Linked DNA regions of Homo sapiens: all the other regions are linked to region 1. The links are contacts of gene promoters, found by promoter capture Hi-C in blood cells and fetal thymus (Javierre and others, 2016). All regions are on one chromosome and are shown on one strand. Each heading gives the region's core, a stretch centred on a gene start or on the middle of the fragment in contact. The rest is flanking DNA. Distances are from core to core; before and after follow the strand shown.

The links. The method cuts DNA at HindIII sites, captures the fragments that hold promoters and counts their contacts. A CHiCAGO score of 5 or more calls a contact.
Region 2: a contact is called between a fragment that was not itself captured here and the fragment with the promoter of MTARC2 in region 1, in 1 of 17 cell types (M2 macrophages). The highest score is 5.2, in M2 macrophages.
Region 3: a fragment that was not itself captured here is called in contact with the fragment with the promoter of MTARC2 in region 1 in 1 of 17 cell types (erythroblasts); the score reaches 5.0 in erythroblasts.
Region 4: a fragment that was not itself captured here is called in contact with the fragment with the promoter of MTARC2 in region 1 in 3 of 17 cell types (M2 macrophages, M1 macrophages and megakaryocytes); the score reaches 8.4 in M2 macrophages.

Annotation. Positions count from the first base shown.
Region 1 is chr1:220,743,145-220,749,571 of GRCh38, reverse strand. MTARC2 (mitochondrial amidoxime reducing component 2) reads right to left here and starts at 1,250. Exons shown (of 8, transcript NM_017898.5): 1 at 769-1,250. The coding sequence starts at 1,040. LOC124904516 (a long non-coding RNA gene) reads left to right here and starts at 757. Exons shown (of 2, transcript XR_007066884.1): 1 at 757-1,753; 2 at 2,809-5,252. The HindIII fragment of the contact is 9,208 bases long and covers 1-4,172 here.
Region 2 is chr1:220,289,709-220,296,120 of GRCh38, reverse strand. No RefSeq gene overlaps it. Among named protein-coding and RNA genes, the nearest start is that of RAB3GAP2, 20 kb to the right of the region's middle. The HindIII fragment of the contact is 6,693 bases long and covers 1-5,617 here.
Region 3 is chr1:220,334,750-220,341,787 of GRCh38, reverse strand. No RefSeq gene overlaps it. Among named protein-coding and RNA genes, the nearest start is that of RAB3GAP2, 66 kb to the right of the region's middle. RefSeq lists enhancers at 2,250-2,756, 2,757-3,264, 4,788-5,295, 4,698-5,897. The HindIII fragment of the contact is 1,479 bases long and covers 4,917-6,395 here.
Region 4 is chr1:220,274,217-220,280,669 of GRCh38, reverse strand. No RefSeq gene overlaps it. Among named protein-coding and RNA genes, the nearest start is that of RAB3GAP2, 5.0 kb to the right of the region's middle. The HindIII fragment of the contact is 3,550 bases long and covers 2,013-5,562 here.

The sequences.
Region 1 (6,427 bases), core at 1-2,500:
GTAATCTCAGCTACTTGGGAGGCTGAGGCAGGAGAATTGCTTGAACTTGGGAGATGGAGGTTGCAGTGAGCTGAGATAGTGCCACTGCACTCCAGCCTGAGCTACGAAGTGAGATTCTGTCTCAAAAAAAAAAAAAAAAAAAAAGAAGAAGGCATCTTAATCCTAAGTATGAAATGTCTATGTGTCAGGCCCAAAAGTCCCAAAGTTCCAGGCTGTGAACAACTCTGCCTATGGGAGAAGGGGGGACACTATTCCCTTAATGGCAAGTATCACCTCTGCCCCAGAGTCCCCATGCCACTTGCTCATCCTTCATCAAAGTGTATCAGGCCTCCAGGGCACCCCCAGGATTGGAGAAATGTGAGGAACAAGGCCCAGCAAGGCCTAAGCCAATGTCCTTGAACAACACTTGGTTTCTTTCTTGCTGCTTTCTAGTGCCAATAGCTTTATTTTTCTACTTTGGTATACTAGGATAGAATCACAAACTTTAGAGCTAAGGAGACTTGGAGATACAGGTCAGACCCCCTCCTGTTACAGAGGAGGAATCTCTCGTCTAGGGAAGGGCAAGGGATTGCCCCTACCTACTTTACCAAAAATAAACCTGGCATGAACTTGGCCTTCCCAGATAAACGACCAACGGCCCAACAGTCAGCCCAGAAACTCAGGTGGCAAACCTCTATAGTCCTTCCCAGATAGATCGGGCCCCACCTGCCCCCCCGCTCCTCATCCCAGGCAGGCTCCGCGCTGCCCCGCGCCCGCGCTGTGCTGTACCTGTCCCGCAGGTTGCCGCTGCGCAGCCCCATGGCCGTGCACTCAGCCTCGCTCACCGGCACCCCTTTGCAGGATTTCACCGGGTAGATCCAGAGCTTCGCCACGGTGCCCACCTGCTGCAGCCGCCGGCGCCGCCTGGGCCATGCGCGGCGCCAGGCGACAGTCCCCAGGGCCACGGCGGCCAGTCCTAGCGCGGCGACCCCGAGCCACCTGGGCCAGGGCCGGGCTGGGAGGCCGAGGCGGGCCAGCGCGGAGGAGCTGGAAGCGCCCATGGCAGAGCGAGGGCGGGCGCGGACCGGCGCACAGACCCGGCAGCGACCGGAGACCGGGAGGACGAGGAGGCCCTTAAGGATCCGGGCAGGCGAGAGGAGTCAAAGTTGACCCAACTACGGACCCTCTCACACTTTCACCGCCGAGACGGCAGAGCAGTTCCGCGGAGAGCGGGAATGCCTTAATGCGGTGACCAAGCCTGCGCGGTAATGGAGGAAGACAGGCAGACAGCGGCGGGGGTACCCTGGGCGCCGTGGGAGCGACGCCGCCCAAAGCAAGCGAGCTAATGGGGCGGCCTCTGGGGTGGTCAGTGTCTCCTCCCTCTTCCCCGCCCCTACAACACGACAGTTACCCATGCAACATGACCTTCAGCGCCAGCACTCTGCCACCCCCTTCTCTGCTAATACTGCACGCTTAGTCGCTCGACAAGATCACCGCAGAACGTGAAGGCGGGTTGCCCAACGGAGGATTTACAAACATTTGGGAACGACTTTTTCTGGCAGGTCGCTGTGAGAACTGCAGGACTTTCTGCACACAAAGACACAGTCTAAACCTCTGCACTCAAAGACGAGGAACTCTAGCGTGGCTTATAGGAGCATGACTCAAGGTCCCCCACCCTCCGCTGCCGCCTAACCTCGACCCCAGTAAAATGTCTTCCCGAGAAAGCTCAAGGCAGCCAGGAGAATTCCCCGTTTATTCTAGCCAACACCCGATGGTAAAGCCCCTGACCTCCCTTTTTTAGGATATTTTCTTAAAAGGGCTTACAACTGTGAATCCTTTCTCTGTTGCTTTGAGATGTATATGTATCGCCTACACCTCAGAAGTGTCTTTCTCAAGGACCTGAAAGCCATTGCTCTGAAATGCAGTCATGGGGAGGATAGGCCTCTGTCCCCCAGTCTCTGTGGGAGGATAGAATCCCAGCTTCATAACGGCCAGCTCCAGGCACAGCTGCCCGTCATTAATACTGACCGCCCCTTCATGATTTTTCACTTGATCCCCTGCTAGCTTCCCGGCCCTATTCTCTCCTTCACCCTTTAAAACGCCCATTCTGCTATGCACAAATGAGAATGATCAGCTTTTTCTCCTACTGTAAGTAGTTACTGAGTAAAATCTGTTTTCATGGTTTAACTAATGTCTGGCTTTGTTGATCTTTAACACCTCCATTCAAGCAAGCTATTGGGTTAACAGTGGATTTTCTCAGACAAATTAAGGTTTGAAGTCTTTCAAGTTTTTTGTTGTTGTTCTGTTTTTCAAAAGTTTGTCCCTTAAACTGTGGCACAGTTCTAGGAAAGTTTAAGGAGGCCAACCAGTGGGCCACCCCCCAAATCTGGGCTGGCCACCTCCAGAGAAAGGGGCCCGTTCTGGAGTGTGGGAAGAGACTCCGGGAAGGATGGAGAACCAGAGGAGCCAGGTTCCCTTTGGCTGTTCCTTGTGAAAAGTGAAAGACAAAACAGGGCCTGAATCTCTCCCCACCCAGGAAAAAACCTCAGGCCAGCAGAATTAGTCCCTCAATCCCCATACATTTACATCATGCTTGGCAGCTGCGACTTATGGATTTGTTTTTTAAGCATGGTGTGGTGAATGTGATGTGTGTACACTTGTAGCTGACCCCCTTTGCCTCTCCCAACTCCTGAGGAGGGTCAGAGTCCTCCCTGCCCACAAGCCTGCTGTCAGAGTGAGGGGCTTACAAAGCCATCGCCTCGCTATACGTGAGCTCCCAGACAGGGCAAATGTCTTATTGATTAATCATCTCTTTCTTTCACCACATAGATATTGATCATTCACCAGGCTTCGTCCTAGATTGGCACTGGGGATTTAAAGTTTAGAAGAAGCTGCCCTTCCATCCAGTTCACTGACTCCCCAGAAGACTGACACCTCCCCTGCAAGTCTAGAGGATAATGTCAGAGGAGAAGCAAGGTCAAGATGCAGAGGATGCAGAGGCAAAAGAGCAGCTGAATCTCAGGACAGTGCTGTTTTCAGAGGGCGGAGCTTTGGAGCTGAGACTTGAACATGAGGAGGGGCTTGGAGATGGGTAAAGGAGAGGATTCTGGGCAAAAGGAGCAGCACGTGCAATAGCCTGAAAAAATGGAAGGAACAAGAGAGTGTGGCATGTTTGGGCAACCACCAGCAATCCAGCTGTATTAGGATGTACCTGTGCATGCAGCAGGTGGCGGGAGTTGAGGCAGGACAGGTGGGCAGAGGTCAGATCAACAGGCATCTTATCTCTACTTAATGTGGAGACACCTCAGAATTCTGAACAACAGTCTGGCATGATTAGACTTGGGTGCTAGGAAGGCCATTCTGGCTGCTCTGAGAAAGAGTAACACCAAAGATGGTTAGATGAGTTGCAAATGCCCTAGTTCAGGCTGATGTAATTCCAAATCAAGGAAAAATAACAGTGGGGCTGGAGATAGACATGTGGTTAGGAGAGATGGTCAGGGGACAGAATTAACAAGAGATAGTGATGACAGAACACAGAGCCAGAGGGAGAGGAAGAGCCCACGGGGCCTCCTGGCTCTGTGGCATAAAAGTCTGGGGTGGGATGGGGGTACCATTCTCAGAGATTAAGAATTCAAGAGAAGCTGGGCACAGTGGCTCACACCTGTAATCCCAGCACTTTGGGAGGCCGAGGTGGGCGGATCAGGAGGTCAGGATATCGAGACCATCCTGGCTCACATAGTGAAACCCCGTCTCTACTAAAAATACAAAAAATTAGCCAGGCATGGTGGTGGGCATCTGTAGTCCCAGCTACTTGGGAGGCTGAGGCAGGAGAATGGTGTGAACCCAGGAGGCGGAGCTTTCAGTGAGCCGAGATCGCGCCACTGCACTCCAGCCTGGGCGACAGAGAGAGACTCCGTCTCAAAAAAAAAAAAAAGAGAATTCAAGAGAAGAAGATAGTCTGGGAAAAAAGATGATGAGCCTATTGTGAACAGCGAGTGAGAGGTATCTTTGAGACATCAAAGAAGAAATAGTTACCTAGATAGATGGGTAACTTGACCTTTCCATGCTTCCACCTCCTCATGTGCAAAATGATGGGGATAGACATCAAGTGAGGAACTTTGCCATGGTGAGTGCTGCCAAGTCTTTGCTGTCTTCACCAGCCATTATCTATCATAGCCTGCCCTGTTTAAGCTTCACCAATGCTGGGGTTGGGGGTGCCTTCAGGGGAGCAGGGAAATTCCTTATCAGTAATGTGTACATTTGCAGCCCAGCATCTTCATTTGTAGAATTAGTGAGGGGTGATGAGAGGCTGTATTAGTCCATTCTCACACTGCTATAATGAAATACCTGAAGCTGGGTCATTTATCAAGAAAAAATGTTTAATTGGCTCATAGTTCTGCAGTCTGTACAGGAAGAACGGCGGCTTCTGCTTCTGGGAGACCTCAGGGAGCTTTTACTCATGGTGGAAGACAAAGCAGCAGTGGATGTCTTACATGATAGGAGCAGGACCCAGAGAGAGGGGGGAGGTTCCACATGCTTTTAAACAGCCAGATCTCATGAGAACTCACTCTCAGGATGATAGCACCAAGGGGAATGGTATTAAACCATGAGAAACCAGCCCCATGATCCAATCACCTCCCAGCAGGCCTTAACTCCAACACTGAGGGTTGCAATTGAACATGAGATTTGGTTGGGGACACAGATCCAAACCATATCAAAGGTTGAGGATTCATGAGTCTAATTGGCTGTTTGCATATCTTTTTTCCCTTCTGATTTGAATCAACTTATCTATTTTTTTGTTAATTTATAAGATCCTTTTATAAATTAAGAAAATTACCCTTTTATCATGCCTTCCCAAGTCATAACTTTTTCCCCTAGTTTGTCATATTTTGGCAACTTCTGCTTAGGAAAAATCTTTCTAGTGAATAAGACATCATTGTCTGCCTAGAGGCACTGACATAGATAAAGAAAACTCTGTCAATTAAAATATCAACCAAGAAACCAGAGAAAAAAAGAAGCCTAAAACCCAAATATTACCTTGCTTAGCCAGGTCCTCTTCAGGAAGGTGAGTACCCAGCAGCCAATGGAAGTATTCATCAGGGCCATGTAGCAGTTTGTCTTTCCTGGGGAGATGAGCACATCAGATTATCAGGCAGTGAGGATAGTCAACCTTCAACCCATATAACAAATCTCATGACGCAGGCTAGGCTAAAATATTGTAACAACCTCAACATCTCAATGCTCTAACAAAATAAAAGTTTATTTCTCACTTACATCCCAGTTTGATGCAGGCCAAACATTAATCAAAGGTCCCCTTAGGCCAGGCCCAGTGGCACACACCTGTAATCCTAGTGCTTTGGGCGACTGAGGCAGGAGGATCACTTGAGCCCAAGAGTTCAAGACCAGCCTGGGCAACATAATGAGACCCTGTTTCTACAAAAAATTTAAAACAACAGAAAAAGAGAGAATGAGGCAGGCATGGTGGTGCATGCTTGTAATACTAGCTACTTTGGACACTGAGGCAGAAGAGCCGCTTAAACTCAGGAGTTTGAATGGATATTAAGCATATATATATAGTGGAAGAAGAACCATGGCTAGGAAGTCAAAATGCCCTAGTGACTATGAAAATCCAGCCACATGACCAGGGCTGAAAGCACCAGATTAGAAACTCAAGCTTGATAGTCAGCACCTTCAGCTTTGAAAGGAAGATGGCATTGGATCTCTCACCTACTTTCCCTTGAACACATAAAACCAAGTGGCAGGGACAGAGCAAGATGTCTGATTAGCAGCCTCTATAGATCATCCTCCATGCAGAGACACCAATTTAACAACTATCTATACTACAAAGTACCTTTATAAGAACCAAAAATCAGGTGAGCAATCAAAGTACCTGGTTTTAACTTCGTATCACTGAAAGGGGCACTGAAGAGGGTAGGAAAGATAGTCTTGAATTGCCAGTACCACCCTCCCCAGTCTCCTGGCAGTGGCCAAGAGAGAGTCTGTGCTCTTGGGGGAGGAAGAGCACAGCGATTGTGGAACTTTGCATTGGAACTCAGTGCTTTCCTATCACAGCAGTAAGCAATATGGGCAGAACTCAGCTGACACCCATGGAAGGAGCACTTAGACCAGCCCCAACCAGAGGGGAATCACCCATCCCAGCAGTCACAACTTAAGTTTCAGCAAGCCTTGCTTCCACAGGCTAACGGGCTCTGGGGTACTAAATAAACTTGAAAGGCAGTATAAGCCACAAGGACTGCAACTTCTAAGCAAGTCCTGGTGCTGTGCTGGGCTCACAGCCAGTGGACTCGGGGGCCATGCAACCTAGTGAGACAGTAGCCAGCACATCTAAGGGATTTCTTGACCCACGCTTCTAACCCCAGGCAGCACAGCTCACAGCTCTGAAAGAGTCTTCTTACTTGAGTAGAAAAGGAGAGTACTTTGTCTTGCA
Region 2 (6,412 bases), core at 1,022-3,521, 450 kb after region 1:
ACAACAAAACAAAACAAAAAAACACCAGTTTGGAAAGGATGTAAATCACTGTGTACAGTAGAGGATGAGAAAAAGAGGGAGACTAGCCTCAAAAATGCTATTGATCAAAACTCATTTATTCTGGAAATGTTTACTGAGCATCTATTGTGTCCTAGGCATTGATTATAAATAATAGCACTGAGAATAAGAGGATGTTACAGACTTCCTGGGGGTCTTATTCCAGTACAGAACACAAACATTACATAAATAAAAGTATAGTAAGTGCTATAAAGTGGAAACCTAAACCTAAGGTGTTCTCTGAACTCATAATAGGGGGCCCAGACCTTAGCTCCGGTATCAGAGAAGGTATCCCTGAGGAACTGATCTCTAAGCTGAATTATGTGAGTACTAGGGGGTACCAGGTCAGTTGTGTGGGGTAGACAGTAAAGACAACAAACTGTATGCACATTGTTTGTGAGAAATAATTTAAATTTTTTGAAAACATTATTTAGGCTTGGCGCAGTGGCTCACACCTGTAATCCCCCCACTTTGGGAGGCCGAGGTGGGCAGATCACTTGAGGTCAGGAGTTCGAGATCAGCCAGGCCAACATGGTGACACCCTGACTCTACTAAAAATACAAAAATTAGTTAGGTTTGGTGGCGGGTGCCTGTAGTCCCAGATGCTCAGGAGGCTGAGGCAGGGAGAACTGCTTAAACCCAGGAGGCGGAGGTTGCAGTGAGCCGAGATAGTGCCACTGCACTCCAGCCTAGGCAACAGAGTGAGACTCCGTCTCAAAAAAAAATAAAAAAAAAAATAAATAAATAATAAATGATTATTACATGCTATGCTCTGGGGATGCAAAGATGAATAAAATGCAAAGTTCTTGCCCTCACAGATAGCAATCTATGAATCACAGAGGAGAGGGTTTGGAGCCAATAATAGCTGTATTCCCAGAAGTCTGTGGTTGCAAATTGAGGATGGTTATGATTTTACTAGAAATGTTGGAGGATATAAAAGGTGAACCTTTTCTTAATAAACACCACACTTCAGGGACTTAGACCTTTCTGGACATGCATTTTGACAGAGTGCACGCCTGCAACAGCTGAGGAAGGGAGGCAGCCTGTGTTCTCAAGTGCCGCGTCCCAGCATCTGCATGTCATACTTGATACATGATGCATAAATTAATCACATTGCTTCCCTCAGACTCTTCAGCCTCATCCACTGAATTCATTCAGAATGTGGAATGGATATTGAGACAAGGGGCAGGGAGAAAGCGATGGCCAAGTAATGCCTGGCACAGAGTAGGTATTAAAAAGCGTTTGCCAAAGGCATGGTTGAATGAATGAGTACACTAATAGCTCAAACTGGTGTTGAACAACTAGATGATGAGAAAGTATAATTGTCCCTCAGAGATCCAAATGAGATTCTGAAAGGATTTTAAGAATCAAAAGAAGTCTTTTATTTGAGGCAAAACTAACTTCATGCTTTTTGTTGGCCATTCTCACTGCTCAGCATCTGAGGCTTGAAACCTTCCTGTCTGTAAGCAATAACTCAGACACTGGTAAGTGCGTTCTTCTGTTATTGTAAAGATGAAGAAATCCAGCCCCAGCTCAGCAATGCCTGGGCTGAGGACCACTTAGCAAGGTGCTGAGATAGAATAAACATTAAAATTCCTCTTCCCTTCACACTTAGACTTTATTTCATGGAGTCAGCACGTATATCAAAGACTCAGAAGAGAATATGTTGGAAATTAAATCATTCAAAACATACGGGAGGTCTCATCATTTAAAGGATGGCCATTGATGATCCCTTTTTCACAATTAACTTCTTCTAACTGATGCTCTGTGTGAACTTTCACCCTGAGTTTCTGAAAATGTGGCTGAGCTTTAAGGCTGAAATTTGTGGTGAAAAACAAACTTCAGTTTATTATCTAAAAAAGACTTAAGAAATTTTCACCTCATATCAGTAAGGACTTTTTGTTATAAATAATCAAAAACAACTCCAACTGATTTAAAGAGAATGGAATTCATTAAAATGATATGTGTGTCATAGAATCACAAGTTAAGGTTGAAAAACCAGACCAGGGCAATGAATCAGGAGTGAAGCCTCAAATCACACCCTAGAACCGGCCCCCTGCAGCCTGCACACCTTCACGCTGCAGCTTGCACCACTGACAATGCATTGATTAAGATTAACTTCAGCAGCAAGTAACAGAGACCCCAAATTACCGACCTTAAATAAGACAGATGTATACTTCTCCTTCTCATATGAAAGTCTAGAGGTCCAGGACTGATCGGTAAATTCTGTTGCTTGAAGGCCCCAGAGATGCAGGCACCTTCTATTTTCTTGCTCCCCTATGCTGGGCCTCCACTACTGTAGTTTTCTCATTGTTTATGGTACTAATCCAGCTTCAGCCATCCTGATACACATTCAAGCCAAAAGAAAAGAGGAACGGATGAAACTCCAGCTGTCCTTTAAGGAAGATCTCAGAAGAGGTCAAGCAACACTTCTAGTTACAGCTCATTAGCCAGAATTAGCCAAACCTGGCCCCCAAGGACACGGGATAATATAGTCTTTATCCTGAATGGCATGTGCCCAGTTAAGAAGAGGTTTCATTACTGTGGATGAAGGAAAGAATAGACAAGCAGCAACCTCTGCCACACATAGCAAGCATAGACACAAAGCACTACCATTACCTCAGCTGTCCCTGCTGGTGCCCAAGAACTCAGGTTTTCTATAATGCTTGGCACTGCAAGGATCTCCGGTATAGGTGTATGTGATTGGCAGGGCAAAGGTCATATGCCTACAGCCCAGGGAAAGGCAGTTTGAGAAATGAAGTGTCTGGCCTAATCAGCATTTAGAGTGGGGAACAGACTCCACATGCCACAATATTCATAAGATATGAAAATGCCCAAACATAGAGGGGGTGGAAGTACCGAGTTGCCTAAAAGAATGAACAACTCCTTTTCTTTTTTGCCACCAAGCCTATTTGAATTCTAGATAGACCCTTAAATAATTATAATTCTAGACAATACTGATTGTTCTGTTCCTCATGTGGGATTCCGTTGTGAAACTATACAAAAAATATTACTTTTGGCAATGGTTTCCTAGGTATGACACCAAAATCATAGGCAACGTAAGCAAAAATAGACAAATAATATTCTCCTAAACTTAAAAACTTTGTGCATCAAAGGACACAATCAACAGTGAAAAGAGAACCTGCAGAATGAGAAAACATATTTGCAAATCATATATCCAACAAGAGGTTAATATTCAGAATCTATAAAGGGCTCCTACAACTCAACAACCACAAAAAAATCAACAGCCTAATTAAAAAATGGGCAATGGACTTGAGTAGTCATTTTTCCAGAGAAGATATACAAATTGACAGAAAAGTACATGAAAAGATGCTGAGCATCACTAATTATTAGGGAAATGCAAATCAAAATTCATACCCATTAGGATAGCTACTATTAAACAAACAAACAAAAAAAAAAAAACAGAAAATAGCAAGGGTTGGCAAGGATGTGGGAAAAGTGGGACCCTGTAGACTGTTGGTGGGAATGTGAAATGATGCAGCCACTATGGAAAACAATATGGTGGTTTCTCAAAGAATTAAAAATAGAATTACCCAGCCGGGTACAGTGGCTCATGCCTATAATCCCAGCACTTTGGGAGGCCGAGGCGGGCGGATCGCGAGGTCAGGAGATCGAGACCATCCTGGCTAACACGGTGAAACCCTGTCTCTATTAAAAATACAAAAAATTAGCCAGGCCTGGTGGCAGGTGCCTGTAGTCCCAGCTACTCGGGAGGCTGAGACAGGAGAATGGCGTGAACCCGGGAGTCAGAGCTTGCAGTGAGCGGAGATTGTGCCACTGCACTCCAGCCTGGGCAACAGAGCAAGACTCCATCTTTAAAAAAAAAAAAATAGAATTACCCAAGATTCAGCAATTCTACTTCTGGGCATATACCCAAAAGAATTGAAAGCAGGTACTTGAACAGATATTTGCACACTAATGCTCATAGCAGCATTATTCACAATAGCCAAAAGGTAGAAGTAATACAAATGTCCCTATATAATGAAATATTATTCAGCCTTAAAAAGGAAAGAAGTTCTGACACATGCAACAACATGGATGAACCTCAAGGACATTATGCTAAGAGAAATAAGCCAGTCACAAAAAAATGAATACTGTATGATTCCACTTACATTAGGTGCTTAGAATAGTGAAATTCATGGAGACACAAAGTAGAATGGTGGTTGGCTGCCAGAGGCTGTAGGTAAAGAGAAATGGAGAGTTGTAAAATGGTTAATGGTTCAGCTGCAATGGAAAGCAGTTTCAGTTTTGCAAGATGAAAAGAGATCTGGATATTGGTTGCACAATAATGTGAATGTACTTAACACTACTGAACTGTACATTTAAAAATTGTTAAGATGGTATATTTTATGTTATGAGTATTTTATTATAATTTTAAAAAATACTAGTACTACTTAGTACTATTTTCCTGGTGTACACAGCAGTGGGCAAGATTTTCAACTCCCTTGGCACATATCTTGCACAGAATGTGAAACCACTTAGTACAGAGACAAATGATAAAAACTGTGGCACACAGCTGAAATCATAGAAGTCTTTGCTCTTGAATGAGAAAAAGGGGCATTTTTTTCTTTAATTCAATGGAATTTATCTTTTATGGATATAGGGAATAAGATTTTTCCACTTAATTAATTATAGTTTTAGTGTTCTATGAAGGGTTAATTCACCTTTCTCTTTTATAGAAAAAAAAGTTCGGGAATTCAAATATAAGCGTATGAGTGGGCCAGACCCACAATTCTCAGAAACATGCAACTGTAGGGAATAAAAGCAAGTGCAACTTACCAATCCCATTACTACCTGAAAGTACTTAGCAGTAACTATCATTTGCCTCATGTTTTACAGTCTACAGAAAGCTGTCACCGACTATATGTTATTTCATTTGAACTTCTTAATAACCCTAAGAAGTAATTAAACAGGTATCATTTTTCCTATTTACAGGTGAAAACTATGGATGCCGGAGGATAAATTACATATCCAGAGTTAGAGAATAACAGAGAGGGTGAATACTAAAACCAGAAGGCAAAATCTATTTCCTTCAATCACATTATGTGTCTCCTTAGCACTTAGAAGAACAAGCTGATTAATACAAAAAGCAGGCAAGGATGCTATGTCTTTTAAACATATGTACTGATTTAATTTTCATTCAGATTTTTGTGCTTTGCTCTTTCATTATATTTTTTTCCAAAGAAAAAAAAAACCTCAAAGTTTATTTTAAATAAAAGCAAAATGTAAAGCTCTTAAAAAGAAATTTGAGAGAGTTCTGGTTCTAGCTACAAGGAAAACTACAAATATCTGACAAACTTTCAGCTACAAGCACGTAGAAATGCTGGATAAAATATAACACATACTCTTTTAAATCATAGCTAAGGGCACCAAACCAAAGGGAACATCACAGGTGATAGAAATGAAAAAGGAAAACTGAAAAACAGAGAAGCAAGTTTATGGGCTGACAGAGACTATGTCAGAGCAACAGGCTGTCTCAGCCTTTGTAATGCAGGCAGCTTTAATGCCCATTTGGAAAATGGCACTTATGTCTTAAGCTTGCCCAAAACAGAGTTTGGAACTGAGAACCTCCTTCATAAAACCATTATCCTAAAAGGGCTGCTCCATTAGTGAAAGAATAGTTTAGGAAACAATTCACCTTCCAGCCCCGGGAGTTAATGGGAGTTAATAAAAGAGCTCGTCTGAGTAGTCCTGGCTCTGTGTGGGAAAAAGTCTCCCTGAAAATTTAACTATGGGAATCTAACTCCTCACCACCCCGGCAAGCAAGCCAAACAATTAACATATAAATTGGTTCAAGCTTCTGATACTCTTATTACATCTGGCCAGGGCAAACCAAAACCTACTCCAGAAGAGCACACCCTCAACCCAGGCTGCACAGGGTTCCCACACATAAATTTTCCTAAAAATTAGATAACAGTCCAAAATTACAAAACAGATGAAGAAACAATCCACCCTGAATAAGAGTTAGAATAAGATCCCCAAGAATATTTGATATTGAAACAATCTAATAGAAATCATAAAATAAGTATATTTAAATGTATTAAAGATATAAAATAAGAAATTGAAACGTAAAAAATAAAATTATACTGTTTAAAAACGGAAGATTTTTTGAAAGAACCAAATGAATTTCTAAAAATTAAAAACATTGTAATCAAAATTTTAAATTACAATAAATAGGATGAATAGTAAGTTAAATATAGCTAGAGAGATAATTTGTGAACTAAAAGGTAAGTCTTAGAAAATTGCCCAAACTACAGCTCAAACTAAAGAAAGAGATTAAAAAAAAAAAAAGGACAGGAGAATGAAAAGTGAAAACACAGCATATGTTAAATAG
Region 3 (7,038 bases), core at 4,407-6,906, 410 kb after region 1:
ACAGATGCATTCTATGGCTTGGAAATGATACATAAAATTTCCTAGATATGAATGAAAAGGATTTGTGAGAATAAACCACTACTCTTCAGCAATAGAAAGGTTTAGACTCTGCAGGCATTTGAATGTGACAGTTAAATTTCTCAGCCAGCCCCAAATCATCTCTTCCTTCACAGCAGTGGTTTTTGGAAATCCATTGTATACTCTCTTTTCTTCATGAACTATTCACTCGAGCATCAGCACCATATTTATGTATAAGTTAAATGAAACCTCTCACCATGAGAGAACCCTGTGTTCTAATCAGCAAGCATGAAAAGTAATAATGGAATTGAAGTTATAGATGCTGAGTATTTGTTAGAGGTTGAAAGGTAATATATCATGTGTCCGTGACTATCTGAAATCATCCCATATTCATTCTGTGGGAGGTTACTATAGATTTTCTACACATTTGCCAACAAGAATAAAAAGAAAGAGAGCAATGTTAGAGACTGTGTTCAAAATAACTATCTGTTGCTATTGGTAACTAAGACTTGCAGTAAATTGAAATGTAGGATTCTATGTCTCTTTTTGATTTTCAGATGGTTGAAACTTTTAGAAAAGGGACTTAGTTTATTTTTGGTTTATATAGTTCAAATACTTCTCAGAAGGTCAGTAGGCCTTGGGAAGGTTTATATGCCATATTTAGAGGACTAAAGCTATGTTTTAAATAAGAATGTTTGGGACTTATCAAAAAAATTAAACTTAAAAAATGAATTGGGCCAGGCATGGTGGCTCACTCCTGTAATCCCAACACTTTGGGAGGCCAAGGTGGCCAGATCACTTGAGGCCAGGAGTTCAAGATTACCAACATGGTGAAACCCTGTCTCTACTAAAAATACAAAAATTAGCCAGGCATGGTGGTGGGTGCCTGCTCCCAGCTACTCAGGAGGCTGAGGTACACGAATTGCTTGAGCCCAGGAGGCGGATGTTGCAGTGAGCCGAGATCGCGCCACTGCATTCCAGCCTGGGTGACAGAGTGAGACTTTACCTCAAAAAAAAAAAAAAAAAAAAAAAGAATTGGAAGATAAGTAGGATAGCAGTTGGTGACCCAGCCCCTGGCATGTCCCTACTCATGGCCATCATCACAGATCTTCTCACTTCATGGCAGCTATTACTCATACTCCATGGACCTTTCCAGTGTCCTCTTACAATTGGTTTGGCTTTTTCTCTCAATCTTCACCCTGTGCTCACTCTTTGGACTTGATGAAGGCATTTGGCTAACCCAGTATACACACTGGGACTTTCGCAGTTACAAATAAGAGAGTATTCAACCCAAACTGGCCTAAACCAAAAAGGTAATGTGTTGGCTCATGTGATTGGAAATTTCAGAAGTTCAGGCACATCATGATGCAGGAGTTCAAATGATATTTCCAGGACCCATTTTCTCTCTGTCCCATGACTCAACTGCTGTATTGATTCCATTCTCAGATGGGCTCTTTCCCTGTGGCCTCAGAATGGCTGCCACCTGCTCTGGAAACAACTTATTTCTAGGTTTAAATCTGGTAGAAAACAGTGGGTGTCTTTGATTCAGAATTCTTAAGAACTGTCCAGGCCAGTCATGGTGGCTCACGCCTGTAATCCCAGCACTTTGGGAGGCAGAGGCAGGTGGATCACCTGAGGTCAGGAGTTTGAGACCAGCCTGACCAACATGGTGAAACCCCATCTCTGCTAAAAATACAAAAAATTAGCCAGGCGTGGTGGTGCATGCTTGTAATCCCAGCTGCTTGGGATGCTGGGGCAGGAGAATTGCTTGAACCTGGGAGGCAGAGGTTGCAGTGAGCCAAGATTGTGCCACTGCACTCCAGCTTGGGTAGCAGAGTGAGACTCCGTCTCAAAAATATATATATAAATAAAAAGAAAAGAAAAAGAAATGTCCAGAAATTCACACAGATAAGACCAGTCTAGATCCCACTCTTGTGCCAAGAAAACATGGTATGCCAGTTGACTCAGGCCTCAATCCAATTTCCACCCCCAGACCTAGAGCTCCATCTAGACCACAAGGAATGAAATGCATAAGGGATGAATCTCAAAATGAAAAAGGGGGCTATTGACAGGAAAGGAAGGATTGGATGCCAGGGATGCACACAAAAAATACCCATTACATCTGGTTTTGACCCTTAGCTCTCCCTGGGCTCAGATTGCACTCAATACTCCAGTTATATTGAACTCTATTCCTCTAACTTGCCGTGTTCTCTTTCCTGTTTGTGCTATCCCGCATACTGAGATACATGCAATGGAGCCTGAGCCTATTGCTTGCCCATCATGAAAGGGTGAAAATGATTTTACTCTAAGACATAGAGTAAGGCTTCCATAATTGAGGTTATTGGACTCTGCCCAGTGAAGCACCCTAGCAACCCCAGAGACCTATAGAAATGAGTATTATTGCTTCCAAAGTGTGCTGATTGTGTATAGGGAAGCACAACTACTTTTCAAAATCTATCCTGATGTAGAATGAACTATAATAGTGAAGGAGACCAGAATATGCCACCCCAAAATAGGCCTTTTTGGCATAAGGATTATTCTGAGCTGAAGGCAATTGAGGAACATCATACCCAGAAAAAGCTCTGAAGCAGAGCATAAATTTCCCTTTCTTAAAGGAAGCTTACATTTTATAAAAGAAATTTACATTTGCAAAAGTGTCTCCCTCTCCCAAACCAGGAAGGAGGAGGATGGCTGCTGCAACTCCTATCAATGGAGAAGGCACCACCTGAAATCTGCATAACAAACCTTGATAAACAACTCTTGTTTCCACACAGCCCTTGGTCACCTTGCATAACTTACCCCCTCAGCAAGCCCCAAACCTCTTTTTCTTTGTCTAGCCTAAGAAGGCATGTAAACACTAAGTTCTGGCTGCCTCCTTGAGCCACATTTTACTTTACCCAGAACCATGCATATGTGTGTAACTAAAACTGTTTTTTTCACTCATTACTCTGTCACTAAAGAGGCTAGAGGAAAAGTTTTCCCTTCCCGACAAAAGAATGTCTGTAGCAGATCTGTAGATCTGTAGTGCCCAGAAGCACTTAACATGGTGGCCAATACAATTTGGGAGTGCTGGCTGGGCACGGTGTCTCATGCCTGTATCCCAGCACTTTGGGTGGCTGAGGCGGGTGGATTGCCTGAGGTGAGGAGTTCGAGACCAGCCAGACCAACATGGAGAAATCCCGTCTCTACTAAAAATAAAAAAATTAGCCAGTCTTGGTGGCATGTGCCTGTAATCCCAGCTAATCGGGAGGCTGAGATAGGAGAATCGCTTGAACCTGGGAGGAGGAGGTTGCAGTGAGCCAAGATTGTGCCACTGCACTCCAGCCTGGGCAACAGAGTGAGACTCTGTCTAAAAAAAAAAAAAAAAAAGAAAATCTATATATATCTATATATATGGATATACACACACATATATATGCGTGTGTGTGCTTTAATCTCTGTTGTTTCAAGAATATTTAAGGATTTATCCTCAAGTAATCAATCCCTTTGAGACTACCAGGCATCTGATGTGGTTGTTCAACCCAGAGAAAAGAAAGCTGACTTCGAGTATATGCAGGACTGAGAACTAAGTAATAAAGTGAAAAAACTAGAGTTATTTTGTGATTTTTTTTTTCAGCATACAAATAGAGCTAAAAGGAGAAGTTCAAACAGAGCACATTTCATTCCATATAAGTTTATTAAGAGTAACTAAGTGCCAGAGTTGAGTGTATAACATTGTAATGACATCAATAAGATAGGACTCTCAAGTAGAAAATAGTCTAACAAGAATCAGACAAATGAACAAAACACACATTATCTCCTTATCAGAGAGTGCTAAAAAATAAAAATTAAAAAATACACACATTAACACGCAAACTAACAAATGTCGCCAAGGTGGCAGTAACCCTGCTTGAGAGTCACTACGCCCTTTCCACTTCTCTTCCAACATTCCCACCTGGAAAAGAGGTGAGCAGGTGCAGGCTCTGCAACACTCTAGTCTCTGCTTGGCGTATTCCAGCTGTGGAATCCTCCTCCCCTATTTTTGCCTTCCCTGTAAATCCTGCTGTTTCCAGGCCATCATGGCACTTTGCTGCTGCTTTCCCTACTGTTGTGAAAGGCCTGTGAACTGGAAGAAGGCTCACTGAATAATTTAAAGGCAGCTTCTCACTTCCAGAAGCAATGCTCTAGTTACCTAAGATAGCATCAGGCCACCCAGCATTCCGTCTGTGCCTGAGGCAGGTATACACTGGTGAGGCATTGTAGCTAAAACAGCCAGTGAGTCAGCAATGGCAACAACCACCCAAAGAATCTCATTAATTGTGGACTTCACTCAGAGATGGGGGATGATGCTGCATGTGGAAGAGAAGCTGGTTAGATTAATTGGTCAGCAGCAGGACAGCAGGCAAAAGTGTGCTATGTCAACACATTCATAAAGAGATACATGTTTGTGTTTGTTTTTCAACCAAGGACGCAAGTTTTATCTACTTCCTCTTTACTGCCACAAGCCTGTCAGGCTCTGTCGCCCAGGCTGGAGTGCAGTGGCATGATCTCAGCTCACTGCAATCTCCAACTCCCTGGTTCAAGCGATTTTCCTGCCTCAGCTTCCAGAGTAGCTGGGACTACAGGCGCCCGCCATCACGCCTGGCTAATTTTTGTATATTTAGTAGAGATGGAGTTTCACCATGTTGGCCAGGATGGTCTCGATCTCCTGACCTCATGATCCACCCACCTCAGCCTCCCAAAGTGTTGGGATTACAGGCGTGAGCCACCGGGCCCAGCCAGGCATTTGAATAAACACCTTCGTTAGGGAATTCAGAGGAACACAAATCAAGAATACATTTGAGTCCTAAACATAAACAGAAGAACACCTTCTGTGAGGGAAACAAAATGCAGGAAGATCCAGAACTCCCCAGCAAGCTTTGTTAATTCAAGTCCCCAACAACATTTGTTTCTAAACATTCCTTAAATTCCGCATGTACTCATAAGATTTCTAGGTGTGACTACTGAAATGTGCTGATTTAGTTAGGGCTAAATATTGAACAGTTGCTAACGTTGGAGGAAGAATGGAAACAAATCCAAGAAACAAGCTCCTCTTTATATCCACCCTGTGATGGTTGCTCTTGTTAGTTTAATTAAGCTCCTGGATTAATGCAGGTAAGCCCTTCCTGATTCATTCCTTATACATATAGGGAACCCAGCATGAGCCTAAGCTGGGTTCACTCTAGGACTCAGGCATGTCAAGGCTTGTTGCAAAAACTCATGGGTCAGCAACAGAGACTTACTTATGAGAAAGGTAGAAGAACCTCCCGGAGAAGAACCTTTCTTAGGAAAGAGAGCTTCTAAGGCAAACAAGTTTGATACAAGGACAGTGGTCCAGAGTAGGAGGGGTAAAAGGGCAAAAGAAGTGAGATGGGAGCCCCCTTGGAGGTTGAAGAAGCACCAAACTCCTTTTGTTTTTGAGACTCCTGAAATATTACATTAAGAAATACCAAAACTGGGTTATATAAAGAGGCATTTCGCAAATTTACATTTAACATATTAATGTCTTTAACATTAACACAAAACACATTGCAAATAATGGTATTATTCACAAGATCATGAATGGATTTAGAAGTATTAGTAATTGATAATTTAGTATAGTGATGTGGTCCAATATAGGGACACAAGAAAAGGGCTGTGTGGTGAGTGCTGTCTTCTTTCACTTCAGGTGGCATCTCTCTGAGATGGGATGAATAACCTCATTTGGAGTCATCTCTGTCATTGGCCTGTGTCTGTCCCTCGGAGTATCCTCCTGCTCAGCCTTCACTGACCCAGCCTGAAATCTATGCCTAGGGGCTGCAGGAAAATAGCAAGTAGAAACCACAAGAGCTCTTAAGCTCTGAGAGATGCTGAGCATGCAAACCTTCTGGTGCCAACAACTTCTTCAGCAACTTTGTTGACTTTGGCAACCACAGGAGTCAGCTCAGACATTATCGCCTTGACCAGGCATCAGTAGCCTTGGCACAGGTGTTGCTGGGCAATCACAGCAGTGGAAGTGCCTTTGGCCAACACCAGCAGCGGCTTCATCTTCCAGGCATATTGGCAACAGGAACGTGGCTTTCAGTATTGGTTATAAGAATGATGGCTGATGAAAACCAAGGCTGGCAGGAAAACTGCAATAGCCATGGGGTAACCAGGAGGATCTTGTTCCATCAATTAATTCTTCCCTGCCCTCTCTCTTGGGGGCTAGCCTTCCCCCAGATAGTACACTTTCTGTTTGTCTGTGGCTGATCTCATGGGGACAGACCATGTAAGGAATCACTGCCTTGATTGAGTGGGTGAGCCTAAATAGTTCTGGGGGGTTAGTATTCAGAAGACCCCTTGGCCATAGATATAAGGCTCATTTTCCCATATAAGCTTTATCAGTAATTTTTTAAATGTTACAACTTTGACTCTATATGCTGTTCTTTTGGCTTATTTCTAGATTGATTCATAACTCAGGAATGAGAAGTGCTGTTTTATTAAGACTCTCAAATACTAAAGGAATCATCGTTATCATCATAATCATCATCAACATCATCAATCCTCATTACTGCATTCCCAGGCCCCGGTATATTATTTGGCTTTAGCAGACATCTAAATATATATGTAGCCAGGCGTGGTGGCTCATGCTTTTAATCCCAGCACTTTGGGAGGCCAAGGCAGGTCGATCACCTGAGGCCTAGAGTTTGAGACCAGCCTGGCCAACATGGTAAAACCCTGTCTCTATTTTAAAAAATACAAAAAATTAGCCAGGCATGGTGACAGGTGCCTGTAATCCCAGCTACTCGGGATGCTGAGGCAGGAGAATCACTTGAGGGTGAGGTTGGGAGGTGGAGGTTGTGGCAAGCCAAGATTGTGCCACTGCACTCAGCGAAATTCCATCTCAAAAAAATAAATAGTCCAGGCGCAGTGGCTCACACCTGTAATCCCAGCACTTTGGGAGGCCGAGGCAGGTGGAATACTTGAGGTAAAGAGTTCGAGACCAGCCTGGCCAAACAAAACCCCATCTCTACTAAAAAT
Region 4 (6,453 bases), core at 2,538-5,037, 470 kb after region 1:
AAGATTTTAAAATGCAAGGATTATATATAAGTCAAATTAGTGGCTACTAGCAGGACAATTAACACTGACCGCATCTGCTGGAAAGAAATGGCATCAAGAAGAATAAAACACCCAGTCACCTAATGCCAGGCAATGTAAGGAGGGGAAATTGGAGAGCTTAAGAGAGGGAGACCCTGAGCAAAGCACTCAAGGGAAACTTCCCCTGCTATGGCATCTAGTAGTCTGTGAAGGTTTCACCAAGGGGGAACAGAAAGTCAACCTTCAACACAAATCTAGAGTCCAGTGTAAATGATCAAGTGCATCAGGGGGAGCTGGGCTGGGAACACATCTTGACTCCGGACCTACAAACCCTTGTCCCTACCCTGCAGCTCCTTAGACTGCAAGCAAGACGTGAAAAGTGGTATCAGTGAAGAAAATGAACCCAAGGAAACATTTCTCATATTTAAGCAAACTAAGAAATGTTGCTTAGTCCTTACATTCTACAGGAAATGAAATTTGAGAAAATTTAAAATCACTCAGGCCACCTCTCTAGACTCAGCCCCAACCGTAGTGTCACACTTCACATTTTAGAAACCGCTGCTTCTGTTTCTTTGTACACACAAGTTACTGCTGCCCCCCAAGCCTTTTGTCATGATGTTTCTTCTGCTAGGGTATTTTTTTCGTTTCTCCCTTACGCCCTTGTCAGCCAGCTAAAATCTATTCGGCTTTCAAGACTCAGCTCAGATATTACCTCTTAAAAGTCTTTTCTGAATCCCAAGGCCATGGTTTTTGTTCCTGCTCTGTTCTCTGGTAATTATTCCTGCTTGTGTATTGGTAACCCCTACCTTCACCAGTACTGGGTCTTACTTATATTGATGTTCTTAGGGCCTCCAGCCATTCATAGCACCTAATGGGTACCCAGAGAATAGTTCTTAAATGAGTGAATAAATTAAAGAAGAAACAAAAGTGTTATGGGGAGATTTACTAGGTAATATGATTAGAATTATGCTTCAGGAAGACAAATCTGGCAGCAATGTGTAGGATGGTTGAGGTGGGAAGCCCAGACGCAAAGGCAGGAAGACCGAAGAAGCTATCGAAACAGCTCAATGAGGAGGTGGAAATGAGGATATCAGGAGAGGATCAATCCAAGAGATATTTTGGAAGTTAAATCAATAGAACTTGGTGGCTGACTAGTGAACAAGCAGAGGAAAAGAATATTTATCCTTTCTGTTCATAGCTTATCCACCAAATGTGATAACCATTAACAGAAAGAAAAGAGTCTGTAACAAGGTACTTTGAGGAAGGGACTGAAGGAATAGAGAAAGATAACAAGGAGATAGTAACATATTCAGAAAATAAAAAGATCAAAGAGGAAGAAAGGGATCAGGAGGTTGCAGCTTCACTGAAGCTAAGGTTTGGGAAAACTGTGAAGAAAGTGTAGTCCAGAGTAAGGAAACCACAGGGAAGGTGCTGGACGGAGCTATTTTATTCACAAACCACAAGGCAATGGCTTCTCATATTTGTGGTCTTAGTTTATATACAACTCCAACCAGCAGTTTCCCCTTCACCTAACCTTCCCTCGATTTTCCATTATGAAATTGTTGATTGGAACTTATCACTCGGCTGCTAAACAACAAGGGGGGCATTCTTTTATTTCAAAGAATCTTTTAAGAGTCTATTTCAGTTGTGCTAAAAATAAGAAAACAAGAAATACTTGGTCACCTGGGGCATATTTTTATGTCCAAATGAAGTCAAAAATATTTAAACAATTTAAAATATCCAGGTAATTGGTCTAATCTCATCTGAATTATGCTAGAGAAAAAGACAATCAGAGAAATAAAAATGCTTTTATTTAAACAAGATACATAGAATAGAGCAAATTTCCTTGATCAAAAGTTTCTCTTGTTACTAAGGTCATATTATATCAGGATTAGGTTCACCTACAATAACAGAAAACTCAAAATAGCAGTGACTAGAACACACACAGATTTCTTTTGTCACCTGAAAGAAGTCCAGATGTGGCAGTCCAAGCTTGGCGTGGCAGCTCCACAAAGCAGAGGAGACTCAGGCTCCTGTCTTCATGCTCCACCACAGTTTAGGTCAATTCATTGTCTAAAAAGGATGCTGGGGCTACAACCATGGTAAATTTTAGGTAGGAAACAGGAAAGGGGAAGGAGAAGCCAAAAGACTTTTTCTTAGCTGTCTCTCTTGTAAGTAAACTTCTGGAAACCCCTCCCAATGATTCCAACAATTCGTGCTCTATTTCATTGGCCTGAACATAGTGTATGGATACGTTGAGTCAAGAGGGGTTGGAAAATGTGGTTTGTCTTCAAATCTGGGCACATAAGTGTCCCAATAATATATGGGTTCTCCTGCTAAAGCAAAAGGGGAAATGGATAATGAGCAACTAGTAATCTCTTCCACAAATATCAAATCTCATTGACATTTGGTGGCTCACTTAACCTGACAAGTCCTAAACACATTAAAATTAAGAAGATGGAGACTTAAAAGCACTATGGCACTTATATTTGTTAGCTAACTGTGTTAATATCTTCTTTCCTTGGAGGCTGAGACAGGAGAATGGCGTGAACCCGGGAGGCGGAGCTTGCAGTGAGCTGAGATAATGCCACTGCACTCCAGCCTGGGCAACAGAGCGAGACTCTGTCTCAAAAATAAATAAATAAATACATAAATACATAAATAAAGTAGGTTTTGGCCCAATAAAGTTATAAATATTGGGAAATGCTGAAAATATAAATATTTTTTCTTGGATTCAAAAAAGCAATAAAACACAATGCTTAGTGAAGCTAGTTCTTCTTTTCCTAACTGGTCAATGCCAGCAAAAAGAAAAGACTTCTTTCCATCTCTATTTTAGTTGTAAAGAAAAAGATTACCATTGCTTCTCTGGCTATCAGAAAAATAATCAACTTCTGAAGAAAGGTTACAAATTTTCTGCAAAAGAAACAGAGTTTGGCTGCTCTATACACTGGACAATCACTTGTTACTACCTATTCACCAAATGGAATCATCTCTTCTTGGCTTTTCCTTTCTTAAATTCTTTATTGAATTCAATACAATAGGTTTACCCCTTTGTGAAAATGTCTTCTTCCTCACTGGGCTTTTGTAGCATGGTCCTACCATGTACAGTTTTCTTCTTTGACTATGTCTTTTTTATCTCCTTTACTAGAGCTTCTTTTTCCATCCACCTCTAAAAAAATAGACAGTTGGTCAGGCATGGTGGCTCATGCCTGTAATGCCAACACTTTGGGAGGCCAAAGAGGGTAGATTCCTTGAGCTTAGCAGTTCAAGACCAGCCTGGGCAATATAGTGAGATGCTGTCTCTTCAAAAAACACAAAAATTAACCAGGCATGGTGGCATGTGCCTATAGTCCCAGCTATTCAGGAGGCTGAGGCGGGAGGATCGCTTGAGCCTGGAAGGCAAAGGTTGCAGTGAGCCAAGATTATGCCACTGCACCCCAGCCCAGGTGACAGAGCAAGACTCTGTACCAAAAAAAAAAAAAAAAAAAAAAGATAGTCCTCCCACCTTGTTTTCCTCATCCAATCCTGCTCTCACTGCTCTCACCCCATCTAGAATCCACTGGCACTTTCATCCCCTCCCTTCAATATAATTTCTGTGTGGAAGACTTCCATAGGTAGGTTCTAGCTCTGGCCTCTCCAATCCCAATTTGGAACTTCAGTTTATAAAAATAACTTAAAAAAAAAAAAACCTAGCTCTTCCACGGGCAGTTCAAATTTAACAAATCCAACACTGAATTTATCCATTTATCTTTTTTTTTTTTTTTTGGAGACAGAGTCTCACTTGCTCTGTCACCCAGACTGGAGAGCTGTGGCACAAACATAGCTCTCTGTAACCTCAAACCTGGGCTCAAGCAGGCTTCCTGACTCAGCCTCTCAAGTAGCTAGGATTATGGGCATGCACCACCAGGCCCAGACAATTTAATTTTAATTTTAATTTTGTGTGGAAATGGGGTCTCTCTATGTTGCCCAGACTGATCTCGAACTCTTGGCCTCATGCATTCCTCCCACCTCTTCCTTCCAAAGCACAGGGATTACAGGCATGAACCACTGTGCCCAGCCTCATCCTATTCTTGTTTGTCCCAAAGCCATTCCTCCTTTTACATTCTCTATCTTGGTTGCTGACATGACATTGCCACCTTTCCAATTCTTTGGACTGAAGACTTGAACATCACCTTGGGTCATATTTTCCCTTCCCACACCTATATCTAACTGTATACCAAAATTCTATTGATTCAGCCACCAGAGAGGCACTGCCTTTCCAATGTTATTACTTCTTGTTTAGAATATTGCTGTGACATCTAGAGGGGTCTATCTGCCTTCAGTCATCCCACATACTTCTACATCTTCTTCAAAATATCTTCAATTGGTTATACCTTGCACACAGAAAAAGACCAGACCATACTATGGTAACTGCCCAAGGGGTTCACCTTGCCCGCTACCTAGACAGAGCCAATTCATCAAGTCAGGGGAATTGCCAGAGAAAGAGTAATTCACGCAGAGCTGGTTGTGAGGGAGACCGGAGTTTTATTATTACTTAAATCAGTCTCCCTGAGCATTCGGGGAGCAGAATTTTTAAGGATAACTTGGTGGGTGGGGGAAAGCCAATGAGCCAGGAGTGCTGATTGGTCAGGGATGAAATCATAGGGAGTCGAAGCTGCCTTCTTGTGCTGGGTCAGTTCCTGGGTGGGGGCTACAAGGTCAGATGAGCCAGTTTATTGATTTGGGTGGTGCCAGCTGATCCATCAAGTGCAGGGTCTACAAAATAGTTCAAGCATTGATCTTAGGAGCAGTTTAGGGAGGGTCACACTCTCCAGCTGCATGACTCCTAAACCATAATTTTTAATCTTGTGGCTAATGTTAGTCCTACGAAGGCAATCTAGTCCCCGGGTAAGAAGGAGGTCTGCTTTGGGAAAAGGCTGTTACCGTCTTTGTTTAAACTGTAAACTAAGTTTCTCTCAAAGTTAGTTCAACTTACGCCCAAGAATGAACAAGGACAGCTTGGAGGTTAGAAGCAAGATGGAGTCGGTTAAGTTACATCTCTTTCACTATCTCAGTCATAATTTTGCAAAGGCGGTTTCACTATTTGGATTTTGAGGTTCTCTATAATCAAGAACCAATTTGTTTAATGCCTTTCCTACCTCTTCCACACTACTTCTTTTCCAAGGGACACCCCTAGGGATCTAAATTAATCTCTCCCTTATTTCTCCCACTGCCCTTTATCCAAAAGCCATCCATGGTACTCATCACACTCTGCTCTTAGAGCATTTGTGTTTGTCTGCTTTTAAGTAGTGAATCTCTGGATCACTTGTCCTTATTGCCTTACTGTGCTTACTACAGTATCTTTAATGTAAAAAGCACTCCATAAATGTTTGTTGAATAATAACTGTAAATAGCCCTTGCTTCTGCTCAATCTTCAATTCAAGGATGACCCTTAGCACAGCTATGAGGTAAGGCTTCAAGGACTCTCCACGCCCTTGCTATGCTCCCCTTACTTTCCCTTAGAGATGTCCAGTACCCTCACATTTTCTCCTGCTGACCCAAGCTTCTTACTAGGGTGCTTACACAGACCACTCCTTCTAAGCAATTCCAGCTCCCAGAACTTGCCATTCCCAGTCTCTTACCAAAACCTACATATCCCTGGGATGAACTTTAGAGCCCAGCCTCTTCATTTTATAAACCAAGAAACTAAGTCCCAAAAAAGTGACATGAATTCCCCAAAGTCATGATTCCAAGTCCATTGCTCTTTCTCTCACATCTGCGTTTAGTGCCCATCCTGCAACTCAACCCCTTCGCTTCAAGCTGCTGCTAAGGATTGGCAAGGGGCTGCTGCTTATCTTCCTCAGTAACACATCTCTCTCTTAACAACAGTCATCTGTGCTCTGACTCACACTAATGGATACTGGAGGAAGTTCACATTGGTACCTGGACTCATCCTGTTGTTATTTTGGTCACAGTGCTTTTCCTACCTCCTGAACCCAGACCTCGGAGAGACACTGTCAATGCTGGGATATGTAAGGCCTGCACATTTTTGCAATGTGCTTTCTTATGACTGTGGAATAAGTGATATTCACTGTCTGATGCAATCCTCCCACATGCCGCAGAAACCATGGTAGCAGAACTCCAGAGGCATCCCCCCCTGTTGCATTACAACTTCCTGGGGGAAGAGTTCAGTTCATGAATGTGTTGTAATTTCTGTGAAGGGTATCTAAAGTCCTTAAAAACATCCATGAATGATCCTTTTCAACAGTACTTGGAAGGAAGTCAGGGACTTCACCATTAAAACTGAGCCAACACAGTAATGAAATTCAATGACCACCACAGGAGACATATGAATGCCTCAGGGAAGAACAAAGGCCAGCAAAATCAGCCAACAGCAGTTACTTCCACAAAATGCATTTACCTGAATAGGAACTTGAATGGTTTTCAAGGAATGAC